Regions from separate parts of the Homo sapiens genome. Here region 1 is linked to region 2. Evidence: promoter capture Hi-C in human tissues and cell types (Jung and others, 2019). All regions are on one chromosome and are shown on one strand. Each heading gives the region's core, a stretch centred on a gene start or on the middle of the fragment in contact. The rest is flanking DNA. Distances are from core to core; before and after follow the strand shown. Region 1 overlaps ALG8 (ALG8 alpha-1,3-glucosyltransferase). Region 2 holds the start of ALG8 (ALG8 alpha-1,3-glucosyltransferase).

Evidence for each region. The method cuts DNA at HindIII sites, captures the fragments that hold promoters and counts their contacts. A contact is called where the count stands out against the background at its distance.
Region 1: a fragment that was not itself captured here is called in contact with the fragment with the promoter of ALG8 in region 2 in 3 of the 25 tissues and cell types used here (liver, neural progenitor cells and thymus).

Annotation. Positions count from the first base shown.
Region 1 is chr11:78,101,348-78,104,097 of GRCh38, forward strand. ALG8 (ALG8 alpha-1,3-glucosyltransferase) reads right to left here. Exons shown (of 13, transcript NM_024079.5): 12 at 2,633-2,705. Among named protein-coding and RNA genes, the nearest start is that of NDUFC2-KCTD14, 23 kb to the left of the region's middle. The HindIII fragment of the contact is 6,932 bases long and covers 1-2,750 here.
Region 2 is chr11:78,138,311-78,141,010 of GRCh38, forward strand. It overlaps ALG8 (ALG8 alpha-1,3-glucosyltransferase), which reads right to left and starts at 1,316. Exons shown (of 13, transcript NM_024079.5): 1 at 1,184-1,316. The coding sequence starts at 1,278. It overlaps KCTD21-AS1 (KCTD21 antisense RNA 1), which reads left to right and starts at 1,483. Exons shown (of 3, transcript NR_102281.1): 1 at 1,483-1,762. RefSeq lists enhancers at 899-1,008, 1,089-1,168, 1,779-1,888, 2,049-2,700. The HindIII fragment of the contact is 8,215 bases long and covers 1-2,700 here.

The DNA.
Region 1 (2,750 bases), core at 199-2,698, 37 kb before region 2:
GCCAAGTGCAGAGGCTCATGCCTGTAATCCCAGCACTTTGGGAGGCCAAGGCAGGTGGATCACCTGAGGTCAGGAGTTCTAGACTAACCTGGCCAACATGGAGAAACCCCATCTCTACTAAAAATACAAAAATTAGCCGACCAGGGTGGCACAGGCCTGTAATTCCAGCTACTTGGGAGGCTGAGGCAGGAGAACTGCTTTAACTGGGTTGCAGTGAGTCGATATGGCACCACTGCACTCTAGCCTGGGCGACAGAGTGAGACTCTGTCTCAAAAAATAAATAAAAATAAAAAATAAGTTTCACATTTAGAAAAAAATGATAATTATATACGTTATATTATCTCAACAATCTAAATTTACTCCACCATTGACCTATGCTGTTATTTAGCTCAAGCTGCTCAGAGAGAATTAGTTCTGCATTTGAAAGAGGTAAAGGGGTTGGGTGCTGTGACATTGGAATAAGAACATGAGAAACAATATAGAATTGAAGATTTAAAAAAAATTTTCTTTTTGAGATGGAGCGTTGCTCTGTCACCCAGACTGGAGTGCAGTGGTGCAATCTCAGCTTACTGCAACCTCCACCTCCTGGGTTCAAGCGATTCTCTTGCCTCAGCCTCCCAAGTAGCTGGGATTACAGGCGCCTGCCACCATGCCCAGCTAATTTTTGTATTTTCTATAGAGACAAGGTTTCACCAGATTTTTAAAATATTTTTTATTTTGGTAAAATATATATAACATGAAATTTGCTATTTGTTTAACCATTTTTAAGTATACAGTTTGATGGTATTAAGTAGATCAATAATATGCGCCCATCGCCACTATCCACCTTCAAAATATTTTCGTGACCCCAAACAGAAACTCTGGAACCATTAACAATAACTTCCCATCCCCCTGTTCCCTCAACCTCTAATCTACTTTCTGTCTCTATGTTTGTTTATTCTAGAATTTCCTATCAGTGGAACGATATGATATTTGTTCTATTCTCTCGTTTCTTTCACTTAGCATGTTTTCAAGATTCATTCATGTAGCATGTATTGGAACTTCATTCTTTTCTTTGGCTGAATAATCCACTATATGTATATATCACACTTTATCATGTATTTGTTGATGGACATTGGGTTGTTTCCATCTTTTAGCTAGTATGAATAATGCTACAATGAATACTGATGTACAAGTATCTGTTGAGTCCCTGTTTCCATTCTTTTGGGTATAGGGGTGGAATTGCTGGGTCACATGGCTATAACTGCATTTTAACATAGTTAATTATATAAGTTTTTATGGACACAGTTATGAACCATAAGCAAGCTTTAAAAAATTACAGTTGGCCGGGCATGGTGGCTCACACCTGTAATGCCAGCACTTTGGGAGGCCAAGGACGGTGGATCACCTGAGGTCAGGAGTTTGAGACCAGCCTGACCAACATGGAGAAACCCATCTCTACTAAAAATACAAAATCAGCTGGGTGTGGTGGCGCATGCTTGTAATCCTAGCTGCTAGGGAGGCTGAGGCAGGAGAATCGCTTGAACCTGGGAGGCGGAGGTTTCAGTTAGCTGAGATCGTGCCATTGCACTCCAGCCTGGGCAACAAGGGTGAAACTCCGTCTCAAAAAAAAAAAAAAAAAATTATAGTTAACATTACATACAGTTTAGAAGAGAAAAAGTTTCCATCTATAATTCTGTAGTAAAATTTGTACATAGTTGGGTGCGGTGGCTCAACGCCTGTAATCCCAGCACTTTGGGAGGCCGAGGTGGGTGGATCACCTGAGGTTGGGAGTTCAAGACCAGCCTGACCAACACAGAGAAACCCCATCTCTAATAAAAATACAAAATTAGCCGGGCACAGCAGCTCACGCCTGTACTTCCAGCACTATGGGAGGCCAAGGTAAGTGGATCACCTGACGTCAGGAGCTCGAGAGCAGCCTGGCCAACATGGTGAAACCCCACCTCTACTAAAAATATAAAAAATTAGCCAGGTGTGGTAGTGATGCATACCTATAATCTCAGCTACTCAGGAGGCTGAGGCTGGAGAATCGCTTGAACCCAGGAGGCGGAAGTTGCAGTGAGTGGAGATCGCGCCACTGCACTCCAGCCTGGGCGACAAGAGTGAAACTCCGTCTCCAAAAAAAAAAAAATTAGCTGGGCATGGTGGCGCATGCCTGTAATCCCAGTAACTTGGGAGGCTGAGGCAGGAGAATAGCTTGAACCCGGTAGGCGGAGGGTGTGGTGAGCCGAGATCACGCCATTGCCCTCCAGCCTGGGCAACAAGAGCAAAACTCCGTCTCAAAAAAACGAACAAAAAAAATTTGTACATAGTATCTTTTAGTTTTTTCCATATCTATCTGTATTTAATAGTTTTATTCATAAAGCATATTTTACATTCAGTTTTTGAGTTTTCATATAGGATTTTAATTTAAGTAGTCCTCCTCAAATACTCCCCCAAACTAAAGACACAAACTATGTTGTCTCGACTGAGTGATGGGATTGAGTGATTTCTCCCTCTATTTACCAATTTTTTTTGTAATGTTGTCATATTACTGTTATAACTTAAAAATAAAATTTAAAGAGCTTATTTGACCACTTAGGTGTAAACATTTCACAAGAGTAAGTATAATTTTAAACATTTTTTTGATTACCTGAATAAAGTCTTCAGTGACGAAATACTATATATGGTGAATAGTAACATGAGTAAGATTTTAATGGGAAGTTCTGTTAAAAGAATAGAAAAAAAAAGATAATTTAGCTGATGACAGA
Region 2 (2,700 bases), core at 66-2,565:
TGTACTCCAGCCTGGGTGACAGAGTGGGACGAGACTGTCTCAAAAAAAAAAAAAATAACAAACAAAAAAAACAACTCTGAGGATACATTTCTAGCCTGAGGCAACTAAAGCAAGAAATAATCTTATGCACAGACCTACAGTTAATCATTTTACTGAATCTACATATACATTCCACTTACATGATTACATATACGCATCAGTATGGACTTACATTCTATACATATGACTCTCCCATATTCAACAAGAGATCACCAAGAGCCTGAATCAAAGGATACCAATAAAACAAACCCTAAACTAGGAAGTGGGAGGGAAAGGAGAAAAGGGATGAGGGAGAAAAAGAAAAAAGAGGAAGGATGAAGGGAAGGCGGAAGCCAATATTAATAAATACTGAGTACCTACTGTATACACACCACCATTTCATGGTTGCTTCTTGGTTTCCACGCTTTCAGTCTTGGCCCTACATCCATTTTTTACACAGCAGTCTAACTGTGGTCTTCGAAACCCTGTGTTATCTGTCCCCAGTGCACCCCATGCTGTGCCACTCCTCTCCCTCAATGCTCTGCAGCCACAAGGGGCACTTTCTGTTCCTAGAATGCTCTGACTTCTTTCCTGCCACAGGGCCTTTGAACTTACTCTTTCCTATGCCTGAACTGCTTTCCACATCACTTATTCTTTTTCATTTTTTGAATTTCAACTCAAACATCACCTTCTAAAGGAATAGCGCACAGCCACTTAGTAACCCTCTATTTCCTTTATCACAATCTGAAAAGTTCCTGTTTGTCTAGCTCCACCCACCAACTTCGAGGGCAAGGACCAGCAATGTCTTGCTCACCACCGCATCTCCCGGGAGTTAGAACGGTACCTGGCACCTCAGGCATCTGATAATACTGGCTGAATGGCTGTTGGAGGCAGAGGTTCTTAACTGCCTATTAAGGATGAGGACCCTGAGGTTCAGAAACGTTAAAGTGATTTGTTCCAAATCAGACAGCGCCAGGTCTGAACCTAGCCAGCTGGGGCTAAGTCAAGTAACAACTGGCGAAACAGAAAGCTTAGCAAAGGCAGGATAGCGACAAACACGACCTAAAGTTTTCTCTTCATACCCAGGGATATCCACACCTTTCTCTCCCGCCCTGACCGACCGCGGGGCCTCCCCGCCCAGCCCCTGGCCGTGCGAGTCCCTTACTATGTGGGGATGAGAAGGCATTTGAGAAGAGTCACCCCGAGCGCCAAAGCCGAAAACCAATTGCCAGTACCCGTGGCAATTGTGAGCGCCGCCATTGCTGCGGCACCGCACGCTTCCCACCAACTTGATCCACATCCGGGATCCCGCGCATGCGGAGAAAGCCCTCTGAAGCCGTGCCCGCTAGCTGCGCGCATGCGGCGAGCGGCGCAGCCAGTCCGGGGACTGCAGTCAGCTATTTAAACCTCCCGCCCACCTTTTCTTTAGACCCGCGTCTCACCCCGGGCCGGAAGGGCTCCTGCGCAGGCGTTTGTAGCCACTTTTAAGTTTTATCAGCTAGTTCATGCTTGCGTTGAAAGAGTGGTCGTTTGCGCTGGGTCATCACTGTGTAGTATTGGGGATACTTAGGTGAGAAAAAAACTTAACGCTAGAGACGTTCACGCACTAGTGGAGAAGCCAGGATTGTTGCCCTAGAGTTACAGTAGATAAAAGTACCTCAGAGAACTGCGGGGGCTCCCAACCTGGACGCTTGCACCGGAGTATTAAATCCAGCTAGAGAATGGCATGTGCAAAGATACAGAGGTGAGAAACATTGTGTTTTTAGAACTCTGAGCGAGGCTCTTGGCTCACCTCCTGCTTGAGCGGAACCCATTCTGGAAGCAGGGTAGAGGCTAGTCCTAACGCTTAGTGTACAAATAGCCTACGGTTCATGTTAAAATAATTCGGATTCTGATTCAGTAGGCCCAACAAACTCGCAGATTGCGTAATGACTGAGGCACATGCAATTTAATTAGGCTTGTCTCATTATTTTACTGTATGATCTTGGACAAACTAAACTCTAAACCTCAGTTTCTTTTTTTAAAATTTTTATTTATTTATTTATTTTTGAAAATAGGAGATAAAAATGGTTTCTGGCCGGACGCGGTGGCTCACGCCTGTAATCCCAACACTGGGAGGCCGAGGTGGGCGAATCACCTGAGTTCAGGAGTTTGAGATCAGCCTGGCCAATATGGTGAAACCCTGTCTCTACTAAAAATTAAAAAAAAATTAGCCGTGCATGGTGGCGGGCGCTTGTAATTCCACCTACTCGGGAGGCTGAAGCTAGAGAATCGCGTGAACGTGGGAGGCGGAGGTTGCAGTGAGCTGAGATCGCGCCATTGCACTTCAGCCTGGGCAAGCCTCAGGCCTGTTTATCCAAGATGCTTTTGGTCTAAAAAAAAAAAAGTTTCAGCCTCATAAACTGGTTGTGAGGATTAAATGAGAATGCATGTAAATTGCTTGATATGATTCCAGGACAGAATAAATGCTCAATAATGTGTCAGATCAGTTAATTATCTTGCTGAAAGATGCACAGCAAGTAGGTGACAGTGTCACCTCCCTAATATGAGTTTATGCCCTCCCACAGCTTCAGCTGCCACCCATGTGAATATGATTCACAGATTTCTAGCTCAGCACTCTTCTCTCACTTTCAGACCCTGGTCTCCAGTTGGCTACCTGACCTCACGTAGATGTTTTTGTTT